Regions from separate parts of the Homo sapiens genome. Here regions 1 and 2 are each linked to region 3. Evidence: promoter capture Hi-C in 16 types of primary human blood cells and fetal thymus (Javierre and others, 2016). All regions are on one chromosome and are shown on one strand. The core of a region is centred on a gene start or on the middle of the fragment in contact, and the rest is flanking DNA. Distances in the headings are between cores, read along the strand shown.

The links. The method cuts DNA at HindIII sites, captures the fragments that hold promoters and counts their contacts. A CHiCAGO score of 5 or more calls a contact.
Region 1: a fragment that was not itself captured here is called in contact with the fragment with the promoter of ERICH5 in region 3 in 2 of 17 cell types (M1 macrophages and endothelial precursors); the score reaches 5.2 in M1 macrophages.
Region 2: a contact is called between a fragment that was not itself captured here and the fragment with the promoter of ERICH5 in region 3, in 1 of 17 cell types (megakaryocytes). The highest score is 5.2, in megakaryocytes.

What each region holds. Positions count from the first base shown.
Region 1 is chr8:97,814,898-97,819,333 of GRCh38, forward strand. It overlaps LAPTM4B (lysosomal protein transmembrane 4 beta), which reads left to right. Exons shown (of 7, transcript NM_018407.6): 3 at 431-504; 4 at 1,161-1,283; 5 at 4,243-4,341. Among named protein-coding and RNA genes, the nearest start is that of LAPTM4B, 41 kb to the left of the region's middle. The HindIII fragment of the contact is 1,222 bases long and covers 992-2,213 here.
Region 2 is chr8:97,838,613-97,843,178 of GRCh38, forward strand. The region is part of intron 6 of LAPTM4B (lysosomal protein transmembrane 4 beta); the gene reads left to right. Among named protein-coding and RNA genes, the nearest start is that of MATN2, 28 kb to the right of the region's middle. The HindIII fragment of the contact is 4,326 bases long and covers 1-3,554 here.
Region 3 is chr8:98,062,738-98,067,730 of GRCh38, forward strand. It overlaps ERICH5 (glutamate rich 5), which reads left to right and starts at 1,831. Exons shown (of 3, transcript NM_173549.3): 1 at 1,831-1,990. The coding sequence starts at 1,933. RefSeq lists a silencer at 1,872-1,971 and an enhancer at 2,212-2,271. The HindIII fragment of the contact is 8,700 bases long and covers 1-4,143 here.

The sequences.
Region 1 (4,436 bases), core at 353-2,852, 250 kb before region 3:
TTAACCAGGATGGTCTCAATCTCCTGACCTCGTGATCGCCCTCCTCGGCCTCCCAAAGTGTTGGGATTATAGGTGTGAGCCACCGCACCTGGCCGGAGTTTTTATTTTAAATAAGATCGGAAGCTATGAAGGCTTTCATTAGAGCTTTGAGGCACACATGAGTTTACAAAATAGAAGTTAGACACCTATATATCTATAAAGTAATACCTAATTCATTATTTATATAATCCAGTGGACCAGAAGAACAAACATTAAAAAAATCTGTAAACCAATATCCCTTTTTCTATTTTGAAATAATCTCTTAGTATAAAGTATTTACTAACTTTATGCTAGTTTATTTACAAAATGCCTTTGAGAAGAGACTGAAAGTATTCAGTGGATCCACTACTGATTGTCTTTTTTAAAGAAATTCTTTTTAATCTTTCGGCAGACATGTGCATTGCCATTGCGATTTCTCTTCTCATGATCCTGATATGTGCTATGGCTACTTACGGAGCGTACAAGGTAAGCCGCTTGCAGTAAGATGCTGGCCTTTTCCTTGGTCTCTTACATGTGTAATCTGTGCTGCTGTCTATAGTGAGAAGTGACTTTCCAGTTTTCTGTTAAGAATCTCTGTTTAAATCTCTCGTTTGTATTATGTGGTACTAGGAAAACCAATATTATACTGGAAATTTTTTTTTTTTTGGGAAGACGGGGTCTCACTCTGTCACACAGGCTGGAGTAGAGTGGTGTGATCTTAGCTCACTGCAATCTCCGCCTCCCAAGTTCAAGTGATTCTCCCACCTCAGCCTCCAGAGTAGCTGGGACTACAGGTGTGTGCCACCACACCTTGCTGATTTTTGTATTTTTTAGTAGAGACGTGATTTCACCATGTTGGGCAGGCTAGTCTCGAACTCCTGACCTTAAGTGATCCACCCACCTCAGCCTCCCAAAATGCTGGGATTACAGGTGTGAGACACCACACACAGCCAGTCCTGGAAATGTTCACTGAAGCTTATTTGTTGACTGCTTATATTTGGCATACTGGTTTCCACCATGACCTGGGTTAATGAATTCCAATTTTTCCATTTCCTTTCAGATTAATAAAATACTTTGAATTTAAGAAAAATATTGTTTTATAATATTGAACACATTAACTTTCTATTTTCTGTTCTGTTTAGCAACGCGCAGCCTGGATCATCCCATTCTTCTGTTACCAGATCTTTGACTTTGCCCTGAACATGTTGGTTGCAATCACTGTGCTTATTTATCCAAACTCCATTCAGGAATACATACGGCAACTGGTACGTGGACCTCTTACTGCTCCTTTTCATTAATTCTTTTCATTAGGGAAGCTGGTTAAGTAAGGGATGTGTAGAGATACACAGACATTAATTTCAGGATTTTTAGCTTGCAGCTGAGTTACTCATAGGAAATTTCTTTTTTCTTTTTTTTGAGGTGGAGTCTTGCTCTCGTCACCCAGGCTGGAGTGCAGTGATGCGATCTCGGCTCACTGCAACCTCTGCCTCCAGGGTCTCAGCCTCCCAGCTAGCTGGGATTATAGGCATGTACCAACATACCTGGCTAATTTTGTATTTTTAGTAGAGATGGGGTTTCACTGTGTTGGTCAGGCTGGTCTTGAACTCCTGACCTCAGGTGATCCACCCATCTTGGCCTCCCAAAGTGCTGGGATTATGGGTGTGAGCCACTGTGCCTGGCCTGATAAAGTTTTGAGGGCCGGGGTTATGATTGGTGGCAGTGATGGTGGTGGTTGATGTGCCTACCTAAATTATAGTCCAGTTACTAATAGTCGTATTTGGTAAAATGTAGTTTTCTCAGTTATCAACAAAGGATAGCTTTTTGCCTTTGCTAGTGTGTTGAAAGTGGGACTCTGCTCAAAAACAAACAAAATAATTAGCTGGGAGAGGTGGCACACGCCTGTGACCCTAGCCACTCGGGAGGCTGAGGCAGGAGAATTGCTTGAACCTGGGAGGTGGAGGCTGCAGTGAGCCAAGATCACGCCACTGCACTCCAGCCTGGGCAATAGAGTGAGATCTCATCTAAAAAAAAAGAAAAATCAAAAGAAAGTGGAAAGAAAGTGGAACACTGCTGTATACTAGCTCCCAAATTTGTTTGACCATAGAATCCCTTTCTCAAGCATCATTTTGGGACTAGTTTACGGTTAAATGTCCTTTGTGACCATATGAGTGAATATTGGTGGCAGGGTATTAAGAAGCTTATAATGGCTATGAGGTTGGAATAACTTTATTTATTTTTGGGACAGGGTCTCTGTCACCCAGGCTGGAGTGCAGTGGTGTGATTATGGCTTGCTGCAGCGTTGACCTCCCAGGCTCCCGTGATCCTCCCATCTCAACCTCTTGAGTAGCTGGCACTATAGGCATGCACCACCATGCCCACCTAATTTTTCTTTTTGTATCTTATGTAGAGATGGGGTTTCACCATGTTGCCCAGGCTTGTCTCAAACTCCTAGACTCAAGTGATCCTCCAGCCTTGGCCTCCCAAAGTGCTGGCATTATAGATGTGACTCACTGTACCAGGCCAACTTTACTTTTTTTTTTTTTTTTTTTTGAGACAGAGTCTCACTCTATCACCTAGGCTGGAGTGCAGTGTTGTGATCTCGGCTCACTGCAACCTCCGCCTCCCTGGGTTCAAGCCATTCTCCTGCCTCAGTCTCCTGAGTAGCTGGGATTACAGGCACCCGCTACCAAGCCTGGCTAATTTTTTGTATTTTTAGTAGAGATGGGGTTTCACCATCTTTTCCAGGCTGGTCTCAAACATTTAGCCTCAGAGGATCCACCCTCATCGGCCTCCCAGAGTGCTAGGAATACAGGCGCCCACTACCATGCCTGGCTAATTTTTGTATTTTTTTTTTAGTAGAGGTGGGGTTTTGCCATGTTGACCAGGCTGGTCTCGAACTCCTGACCTCAGGTGATCCGCCCACCTTGGCCTCCCAAAGTGCTGAGATTACAGGCGTGAGCCACCATGCCCAGCCTGCAACCTCAATCTTCTGGGCTCAAGTGATCCTTCCACCTTAGCCTCCCAAGTAGTTTGGACTACAGACATGCACCACCATGCCCGGCTAAATTTGTATTTTTAGTAGAGATGGGGTTTGACTATGTTGTCCAGGCTGGTCTCAAACACCTGCACTCAAGCAATCTGCCTGCCTCAGCCTCCCAAAGTGCTGAAATTACAGGCATGAGCCACTGTGCTTGGCCAAGTTATTTTATTAATAAAAGAGTAAAGTTGCATGATCTGATCACAAAGAATGACGATTTTATTTCTTAGATATTTTGTCCCAAGTGAAAGGAGACTGAAAACCATTAGGTGGTGTTCACCCTGGTGAGCAGGAGCCAAGCCCATGAGTCATGGGCCTTCTCCATGTTCTTCCTCAACATTGGAAACAACTTTGTTTTGGAATATTGCTCGTGAGGAATCCAAACACATAGTGTTGAATGGTGAAGGGAGATAAAAGATGAGATAGCACAGTAGGCTGCCTTCCCATTCACTTGCCTAGGCCAGTGATGTAGGCGTTGATCAATGCTGTGTGAGTGTTCTGTGGGGAAAGTCCGGCAACTCCCTCTAACCATAGTAGCAGACTTTGATCCTCCTGAAAAGGTTCCCTTTGACCTGGTTGTTAAGCATTGTGGATGGTAGTGCTTGATTATTTCCCCCCACCCTGGAAGTACTTGCTAGTATAAGAGAATATGCTGTCTTGGGAGAAGTACCATCAACAAAAATGCTCTTTGCAAAGAAGACCTCATTTTAGTAGGTTTCTGTCCCTTGCCCTGCATATGCCCTTTAGAATGGTTCAGAACTTTTGAGACATGGTCTGGCTCTGTCGCCCGGGCGGCTGGAGTGCAGTGGCATGATCTCGCTCACTGCAACCTCCACCACCAGGGCTCAAGTGATTTGCTCACCCCAGCCTCCCAAGTAGCTGAGCTGGGCGACAGAGAGAAACTCCATCTCAAAAAAGAAAAAAAAAAAAAAAAGGAATGGTTCAGAACTTGCAGAGAATACAAATTTCAGAGATCCCTGGATATACAAAATGTCCCTGGATACCGATCACTGACGTCTTTTATATGGTAAGAGGGCAGAGTCAGGCTAGAAATTTTGTATTGGTTCTAAATAATAGCTGTCTGCTTTAATCAGTTGCTTTCTGATAAGCATGTCTGAATTGGTGCCCAAGGAATACTGTCTGGAATGATTAATGAGATTTGCTAATGAGGCCCTTTTCTTTTGCAGCCTCCTAATTTTCCCTACAGAGATGATGTCATGTCAGTGAATCCTACCTGTTTGGTCCTTATTATTCTTCTGTTTATTAGCATTATCTTGACTTTTAAGGTAAGCATGAAGATTTTACTTATAGTCTAAAAATATTAAGTGTATTCCTGAATACCAAATAAGTAAACAAACTTTGGTCAGTTTATTGTCTTTCT
Region 2 (4,566 bases), core at 142-2,641, 220 kb before region 3:
GCTGTTCTGACCCACTCACCTCCTCCTAACTGTTGTCCAGTTGGGACTGCAGCTGGGGCCAAGTGTTCTCACCGCCGTGTCTGGCTGTATTGCCCAGGATGAGGAGTGAAACATGTGGACACTTTTTCATTCAGACAGTTCTTCTCGAGTACAGTCAGAAACTTTAAAAGCAGTGGGATTTTCTGGTTTGTTGTTCGTTTGCTAGTTTTTACCTTTTCACACAGTGGAAGGGAGGGGTGGGTAACTCAGAAAAGGGGCGGAAGAAAAAGAAAGGGTAAAAGTAAATTTTGCATACCAGGGCAGCTGCTTATCTATATAGTTGTGCTACACAGTCCTGCTTCCCATACCCCAGTCCCTGCATTCTCCCGATGTTGTCATATGCGCATACAGCTTCAGATAGACTTACCTGTTGGTTCCAATATCAAAGCATCATGGGTGAGATTGGACTACATGCTCCTGAGATTTTTCTCCCAAAACCTTTTCCTTGGCTGTAATTCTGAGGTTCAGGCTGACAGTATGTGACATTAACTCGGCTCCTATTTCTTTCCTTCTGCATAATATTCTTCCAACAATTTTTTTTGTTTTGTTTTGTTTTTGGTGAGATGGAGTTTTACTCTTGTTGCCCAGGCTGGAGTGCAATGGCGCGATCTCGGCTCACTGCATCCTCCACCTCCCAGTTCAAGCGATTCTCCTGCCTCAGCCTCCCGAGTAGCTGGGATTACAGGCATGTGTTACCATGCCTGGCTAATTTTGTATTTTTAGTAGAGACGGGGTTTCACCATGTTGCCCAGGCCGATCTCGAACTCCTGACCTCAGGTGATCCGCCTGCCTCGGCCTCCCAAAGTGCTGGGATTACAGGCGTGAACCACTGCGCCCGGCCACCAACAATAAAATTTTAAATGTCCCGGTCTGCTGGAAATTATCTCCGAGCCATATAACTTTCCAGTTGTTTCATCCCAGAGCAACATTCGAGAAGACTACACGAGCACTTGTAAACGTTAGGAGGCTTTGCATCTGGGGGATCTCAGAGTGTGTTTGAGAGGACATCTAGAGCAGTCAGATCAACACATGGATGTTTGAAACCTAAAGTTCTTAAAGCTCCAAACAAACCTAGTTTTCGTTGTGAACCATTTTACTATAAAACACACACACAACTTATTTAATAACGTGCCTCAGAGTCCATATTGATTTTACTCTAGGGACAAATAAGGCAAGGAATTTTATATTTTTACATTGTAGGAAAGGTTTCTGGGAATGTATTTCCCTTTCCATTATTGCAAGGGAGGTGGCAGGGAAGGATGTGGAGTAGGGGAGGCAGGTGAAATGGGAGTCTGAGATCCAAGGTCATGAGCAGTCCCTGCATCCCTCCTTTTTCAGCCCATGTTCTGTGGCAGCAGCTGGGCATGGTGGGATTGTATCCCCCTGGAACGGTTGTTGTCGTGAAGGAGATGTGTACAGTAGGTGGCGTAGCACATTCAGGCTTCAGGAACATGCAGAGGCAGCTGCTGAGATGCCTTTGATAGGATTACCGAGGTGATAGCACACTGCTTATTTCATTTCCTCAATATTTAAATATCCAGTATTTACTTAACTATTATACTTCAGTGTGTAGAACCATTTTAACTTTCAGTTTGGGCCACTGTATTGGTATTTTATAATTTTTGGACCCAACTGAAAATATTTGCGGTGTGAATTCTGTATTTTGAGTACAATCTGTATCAAATAATTCAGATAGCTCCTTTGCTGAGAATTAAGGATAATAATGGCTCCCTCCTATTATGAAGTGAAGAAAACAGAGTAGTTTTGCAGTAAATTGAGGATAAAAATCTACCTCTATCTTGTTTGCCTTTGGAAACAATTCCTTGCTCTAGGTGAGAGGAGAGTTTCTCATTAGAACTCCCAAAAATGTGTTTATATTCTCATCTCCCGATGTCTTAGGTTCACTGAAGACAAGATGTTATCACTTGTCAATAGCACTATTATTTTAGGTACCTCTTACTGTGAGGTACTGTTACAAGGCACAGCCAAAATTATTATTATTTTTTAAAATTAAAAGGTAAACTTTAATGTTGAAAATGCAAACTTGGGGAAGACAGAAAAGATCACACACAAGGCTGTCACTTCACACTTAGAAGGTTGCACAGCGGCCGGGCAGAGGTGCTCCTCACTTCCCAGACGGTGGGGCGGCCGGGCAGAGGCGCTCCTCACTTCCCAGATGGTGGGGCGGCCGGGCAGAGGCGCTCCTCACTTCCCAGACGGTGGGTAGCTGGGCAGAGGCGCTTCTCACATCCCAGATGGGGTGGCAGCCGGGCGGAGGCCCTCATCACTTCTAGACAGTTGGTGGCCAAGCAGAGGTGCTCCTCACTTCCCAGACGGTGGGGAGCTGGGTAGAGGCGCTCCTTACATCCCAGATGGGGCGGCGGCTGGGCAGAGGCACTCCTCACTTCCCAGACAGTGGGGAGCTGGGTAGAGGTGCTCCTCACATCCCAGATGGGGCAGCAGCCGGGCAGAGGGGCTCCTCACTTCCCAGTCAGGGTGGCTGGGCAGAGGCGCTCCTCACTTCCCAGACGGGGCGGCACAGCCAAAATTCTGAGATGTTAAGATGTACGAAAATGTATACTTTAGAATAAAAGGTACAGAGTTGTGTGTCTGTGTTTACTTATAGTATATATCATAGGTGGGGCATTTAAAAAGTTTGGAAAAATTATTCTAGATATCTTTCTCTTTTTTTTGAGATGGAGTTTCACTCTTGTCACCCGGGCTGGAGTGCAATGGCACGATCTTGGCTTACTGCAACCTCCACCTCCTGGGTTCAAGTGATTCTCCTGCCTCAGCCTCCCGAGTAGCTGGGATTACAGGCGCCTGCCATCACGCCCAGCTAATTTTTGTAGTTTTAGTAGAGGTGGGGTTTCACCATGTTGGCTAGGCTGGTCTTGAACTTCTGACCTCAGGTGATCCACCTGCCTCAGCCTCCCAAAGTGCTGGGATTACAGGCGTGAGCCACTGCGACCAGATATCTTAAAGATAAGCCCAGACTTTGTATTTCTGATTATTCGATCCCAAATGCCCAAATAACTCTGTGAGTTATTCCAGTTACTCACAGAGGTTCATAATTCACTTATCTCCCCTTCCCTGTTTGGCTTAAGTAAAGGAATCTCACATCAAAACAGGCAAATGTGGCGTGACCAATTTAAGATAAATATTTGATGTAAACACTGCACATTTTAAACAAGATGCATTATAGGTGATTGGGGGTTTTACATGGTGGAAAAGAAAACATATTTTGGCTACTTGGGATTAATTGAAATGGACCTTTGGAAGACTTAAGTGCCCTTAAATAATGAGACTGCTTGGAGACTGTACTTTCTCATCTGACATCACATCTTCCAAGGTTACAATTAAGGGCAGCGCTTTTCCTTAGTGCAGGCAAAGGCAAACTTATATTTCAGGTTTTGGGGGCCATATAGTCTCTATCGCAAGTATTTGACTTTCTGATGAAGCTGGAAAGCAGCTGTAGACAGTATATGTGAATGAATGTGGCTAAGTCCCGATAAAGCTTTACTTACAAACACTGAATTTTGAATTTCATATGATTTTCACATGTCGCAAAACATTTTTCTTTTGAATTTTTTTTTCCTTCAACCATGAAATGACATTTAAAAACTTCTTAGCTCCCAGGCCATACAATAAAATGGTGACAGGCCCTATTTGGCCCACATAGTTTACCAACCCCAGCCTTACTAGAAATTTAGGCTGAGTTTTCTAGGCAACTGTAGGACAGCTATCTGAAACATTCCAGATTGTTCAGTAGCCCCTGCTTTTGGCTTGGATAGATCTGAATTGAACTATTCCCTCCTGCAGGAGGGCCGGCAAACAGGAGTACCTAATCTTTGTTTTTTTGTTGTTGTTTTTGTTTTTGTTTTTGAGACAGAGTCTTGCTCTGTTGCCCAGGCTGGAGTGCACTGGCGCGATCTCAGCTCACTACAAGCTCCGCCTCTTGGGTTCAAGCATTTCTCCTGCCTCAGCCTCCAGAGTAGTTGGGACTACAGGCGCCCGCCACCACGCCTAGCTAATTTTTGTATTTTTAGTAGAGACGGAGTTTCACCATATTGGCCAGGCTGGTTTCTAACTCCTGACCTTGTGATCTGCCCGCCTCAGCCTCCCAAAGTGCTGGGACTACAGGCGTGAGCCACCGCGCCTGGCCTAATCTTTGGGGTTTTTGTAAGGATATCTTTTTCCTGCAGAAGTTTTAGTGCTCCCTTATATAATATCTTTTTTTTTTTAAAGACAGAGTCTCACGCTCTCACCCAGGCTGGAGTGTGGTGGTGCAAACTTGGCTTACTGCAACCTCCACCTCCTGGGTTCAAGCAATTCCCATGCCTCAGCCTCCTCAGTAGCTGGGACTACAGGCATATGCCATCACACTTGGCTAAATTTTATATTTTGTATTTAGAGACAAGGTTTCATTATCTTGGCCAGGCTGGTCTCTACCTTTTGACCTCAAGCAATTCTCCCGGCTCTGCCTCCCAAAGTGTTAGGATTACAGGCGTGAGCCACCGCGCCCGC
Region 3 (4,993 bases), core at 581-3,080:
CAGCTAATCAATATAGAAGGAATAATGTAATTAGAAAATCACAGGCACACTGTCTCATGCCTGTAATCCCAGCACTTTGGGGAGGCAAAGGGAAGAGGATCCCCTGAGGTAAGGAGTTCAAGACCAGCCTGGGCAACATGGCAAGACTCCTGTCTCTATAAAAAAATTTTTTTTGGATGGAATCTTGCTCTGTCACCCAGGCTGGAGGGCAGGCTTGGCTCACTGAAAACTGCACCTCCCGGGTTCAAGAGATTCTCCTGCCTCAGCCTCTCAAAGTGCTGGAATTACAGGCATGAGCCACCGCGCCCAGCCTCTTTCTCTCTAAAAAAAGGCCTGGCCAGGCGCGATGGCTCATGCCTGTAATCCCAGCACTTTGGGAGGCTGACGCAGGCGGATCACCTGAGGTCGGGAGTTCGAGACCAGCCTTACCAACATGAAGAAACCCCATCTCTACTAAAAATACAAGATTAGCAGGGTGTGGTGGCGCATGCATGTAATCCCAGCTACTCAGGAGGCTTAGGCAGGAGAATTGCTTGAACCCAGGAGGCGAAAGTTGTGGTGAGCTGAGATTGTGCCATTGCACTCCAGCCTGGGCAACAAGAATGAAACCGTGTCTCAAATTAAAAAAAAAAAAAGCCTGTTCTCACCGGGTGCGGTGGCTGACATGTGTAATCCCAGCACTTTGGGAGTCCCACGCGGGCGGATCACCTGCGATCAGGAGTTCAAGACCAGCCTGGCCAACATGGTGAAACGCCGTCTCTACTAAAAAATACAAAAAATAGCCAGACGTGGTGGCGCATGCCTGTAATTCCAGCTACTCAGGAGGCTGAAGCAGGGAGAGTTTCTTGAACCAGGGAGGTGGAGGTTGCAGTGAGCTGAGATCTCGCCACTACACTCCAGTCTTGGTGACACAGTGAGACTCCATCTCCGGAAAAAAAAAAAAAAAAAAAAAGGCCGAGCGCAGTGGCTCATGCCTGTAATCCCAGCACTTTGAGAGGCCGAAGCGGGTGGATCACCTGAGGTCAGGAGTTCGAAACCAGCCTGACCAATATGGTGAAACCCCGTCTCTACTAAAATTACAAAAATTAGCTGGGCACGGTGGCAGGCGCCTGTAATCCCAGCTGCTCTGGAGGCTGAGGCTGGAGAATCGCTTGAACCCGGGAGGCAGAGGTTGCAGTGAGCCGAGATTGCGCCACTACACTCCAGCCTGGGCAACAGAGAGAGACTCGGTTTCAAAAAAAAAAAAAAATCTATTCTCTTAATAAATGTCAAAGTCATAACGACAAAGCAAGACTGGAGGAACTACTTCAGATTAAAGCAAACTAAAGAGAGACACAACTAAATGCAACGTGCAGTCCTGGATTGGACAATTGGCAAAAAGGGAACATGGAGGGTGGATTAAATCGTACTGTATCAAAGTTAAACTTCCTTGTGGTAATTGTAGTTATGTAAGAAAATAAGACTGTCATCGCACATCTAGTCTACCAATCAATAGCCCCTAGTCCCAAGGCCGCCTCGCCTCCCTGGCTATTTAGTGATGAGTCAGATGATACCTCCCAGCGCTTCGCCCTCGCCCCCTGACATCCTCCCTATCCCTGCTTTAGGGGCTTTTCCTCTCTTACTGTGCCATACCCTCCACCGTCTCCCCTCCTGTCTCCTGGGCTCTACTCCTCCCTGCCCTCCTCTGCGTCCTGGCCCTCCCGCTCTCTTCCGCTTTGCGCTCCCAGGCTCCTTCCACCTCCTGCCAGCTCCCTTCCTCCTCCAGGTGCGCACCCCCTACCATTAGCCCCGCTGCGCGCTTGCGCTCTACGCCCAAGGGAGCCGGGCTGCAGAGCTGGAGAAACTTCCGCGGCTACGGGTGCAGTTGCCTTCGGTTCCCGGTTCCGGGCCGACACCCGCGCAGGGCTGAGACAGGTGTCTGCGCTCCCCGCAATGGGCTGCTCCAGCAGCGCCCTCAACAAGGCCGGCGACAGCAGCAGGTTCCCCAGCGGTGAGCAGGGTACCGGCGCCGCCCGCGCCCGGGCTGGGGACTCGGGTGGGCTAACTCCCCAGGAGGTCCAAAGGGTGTGTCCCGTGGCCACCCCGCCTGGCAGGAGCCGGGCCTTGTCCCGGAGGATGCGAGCAGAACCCGGGACAAAGCGCGATTTCCTTCCAAATCTGGAGCGGCGCTGCTGTGACCGCGGGTGCGGCGGCCCTGGTGCGCTCCGCGGCGCTCGCTGCGAGACGCGCGGGGCCCGAGGCCGGGCGCTGGATTCACCCTGTCCGCTGATGGGATCTCGGGGAGTTGGTGTTGAGGCCCTAAGGCGGTTAGCCTCGGCATTGCCTTAAACACAGGAGAAATGTCCTATCAAGGCCTTCTACCAAGGCTGGGGGCGGTGGCTGACGACTGCAATCTCAGCACTTTGGGAGGCTGAGGCGGGACGATCTCTTGAGACCAGAAGTTCGAGAAAAACCTGGGTAACAAAGCGAGATCTTCCGCTCCCCCGTCTCTACTAAAACACCAACAAAAAAGACTTTTCCCCATTTACCCTCCCATTAGCGTTTCAGCATCAAAGATGGCAAAAGATGCGGAGAATCCAGAGGAGCATTCACTCCATCAAATGGGTCCCTGCACTCTGAATAGGTCAGACACACTTTCCCCTATCTTCGGCTTAAGTATCAGTTGAGAAGTATGTGTGATCAAAAGTGGTCATCACTGACTCTTGCTGAAGAAACTCAACAAGGACATTTTGAGCATCTGCTATATAATACCCCAGTGCTTGGCTAGATGCTGGAGATACAAGTGACCCTGTTTGTAGAGATTGAAGATAGAAGAGACAGAAAAGAAACACGTGAAACAATTGGCTAAGATCGTTTCTGACAGTGATAAGTACTGTGAAAAGTATAAACGCAGTTACATGAATTAGAGAATGACAGGGTTTTACAGCCGACTCACTTTTCTTAGATTTTGAATGGCTAAAATTTTGGACAATGCTATGGAGGTTAAGCAAACTCCGTCAAGCTAGTTTACAGTCTTCTGCAAGGCGAACTTTAGCGGGGATTTTGTACTGGAGTGAATTCCTTTTCACAGATTTTCTCTTAGCACCTTGTGTTATTGCAGTAACAGAAATGTCTTCCTCTGATGTTGTTGGTAGAGCGCACCAGACGGTGAGGAATGCTTTTCAAAGCTCAGCCGCTGTGTCCTAGTCAGAAATATGTTGTGTTGCTGTTATTTTTGTGGTGTATGAGAATTTATTTCTAGTTTCCATAGATAACGGAAAGCAATGACAAGTCAGGAAGTAAACAAAAAATTAAAAGCATTATAAAAGTAAACCCCTTCTCACTGACAACAATGTGAAAAGATGGAAAAATTCATTTCTAATGCACAGTGCTCACTAACTTTTCTCCTAAAGAACCCAGAGCTTCCATACCTGCAACAAGAGGACAGAGCAAGGAGTTTCTCCGATGTTTCGATGTTTCGTGTTTTATGTTATGAAATTAAGTAGAGTTTTGCATTCTGTTCTATGATAGATTTTTGTGGGTTTCAATATGAAAAGCCGAGGGAAAACAGATGCTTCAGGAAGATACATTTTATTATTCTGACTTCTCTACCCCATGCTGTGCTTCAGTTATCCTAGGAGTAGCATCCTGGTTTAACAAGCAGAGTACTGAGTCACCATTACATAGTTTTAAACTGATTAAAACATGTATTTCAGGGAATGTAACTTTGGGGCAAAAGTATTCAGTAGGTGGAATGCAGTTTTTAATCCTCTCAGAAAATAATGAATAACTTTATCTTTAAAAATATTTTATCATCAATATTAATAACTATTCCACGTGAGTTACACTCTTCCATTTTTTATTCTTGCTTTCATTGCTGTTCTGAGTTTTCATAGGTGTTGTTATGGAAGAGATGTTAAAATGCCTGACAGCCAGTTCTAGCCCTTAGAAAATTAACCTAATATGCGGCGTAAATTGCTCAACACACACGTTGAATCAATCAACAGGTCTATTTGCTTCTAACCCTCGATCAAACAATACTCTCTTGTAATTAGATACTATTCTGTGTTCATCAACATTTCAGCTTCATGATCTTAGGCCCGATAAATAATTCATTCCTGTTTCTGCACCTTGCAACTTCTTTAAATCCTATATACAACCTCAAGCTTGTGTGTACATACTTTTAGACAAAAACAGTTCAAGTTTATTACATGTCTGGTACATGCATTTATTCACTGTACTCTCAGTGCCTAACAACGCTTGGCATATAATAGGTCCTCAGTAATTATTTGTTGAATGAATTACTTCATTTAATCCTTATAACAATGTTATGACTAAATATTATGGTTGTCCTGTTTTTACAGATAAGAGTAAATAATTTATCCAAGGTCACAGAGCTTCTAAGAATCAGAGCTGGGCTTTGAACTCATATGCTTTGTTGGGCACAGTGGCTCATGCTTATAATCCCAATGGCTCTGGAGGCTGATATGAGAGGATTGCTTGAGGCCAGGAGTTCAAGGCCAGCCTGGGAAACATAGTAAGACCCTGTATCTAAAAATTTTTGTAAAAAAATTAAAACATGTATTTCAGGGAATGTAACTCTTGGTGGTACAGGCCAGTAGTCCCAGCTACTCAGGAGGCTGAGGTGAGAGGATTGCTTGAGCCCAGGAGTTCAAGGCTGCAGTGAAGTATGATTGAGCCATTGCACTTCAGTCTGGGCAACAGAGTGAGACTCAATTAAAAAAAAAAAAAAAGAAACTATATGTTTAAACCAGCTTCTGCTAACTAGATTTAAATCTGTTTTTGCCTCAGATCACTCTGGATCCCCATTAGGTGTGTGGTCACCCACTATCTAAAAACAATGAAATCAATACAATACAATCAACAAATTATACTATGTATCTTTTTTTTTTTTTGAGACGGCATTTCGCTCTTGTTGCCCAGGCTGGAGTGCAATGGCATGATCTCGGCTCACTGCAACCTCGGCCTCCTGGGTTCAAGTGATTCTACTGCC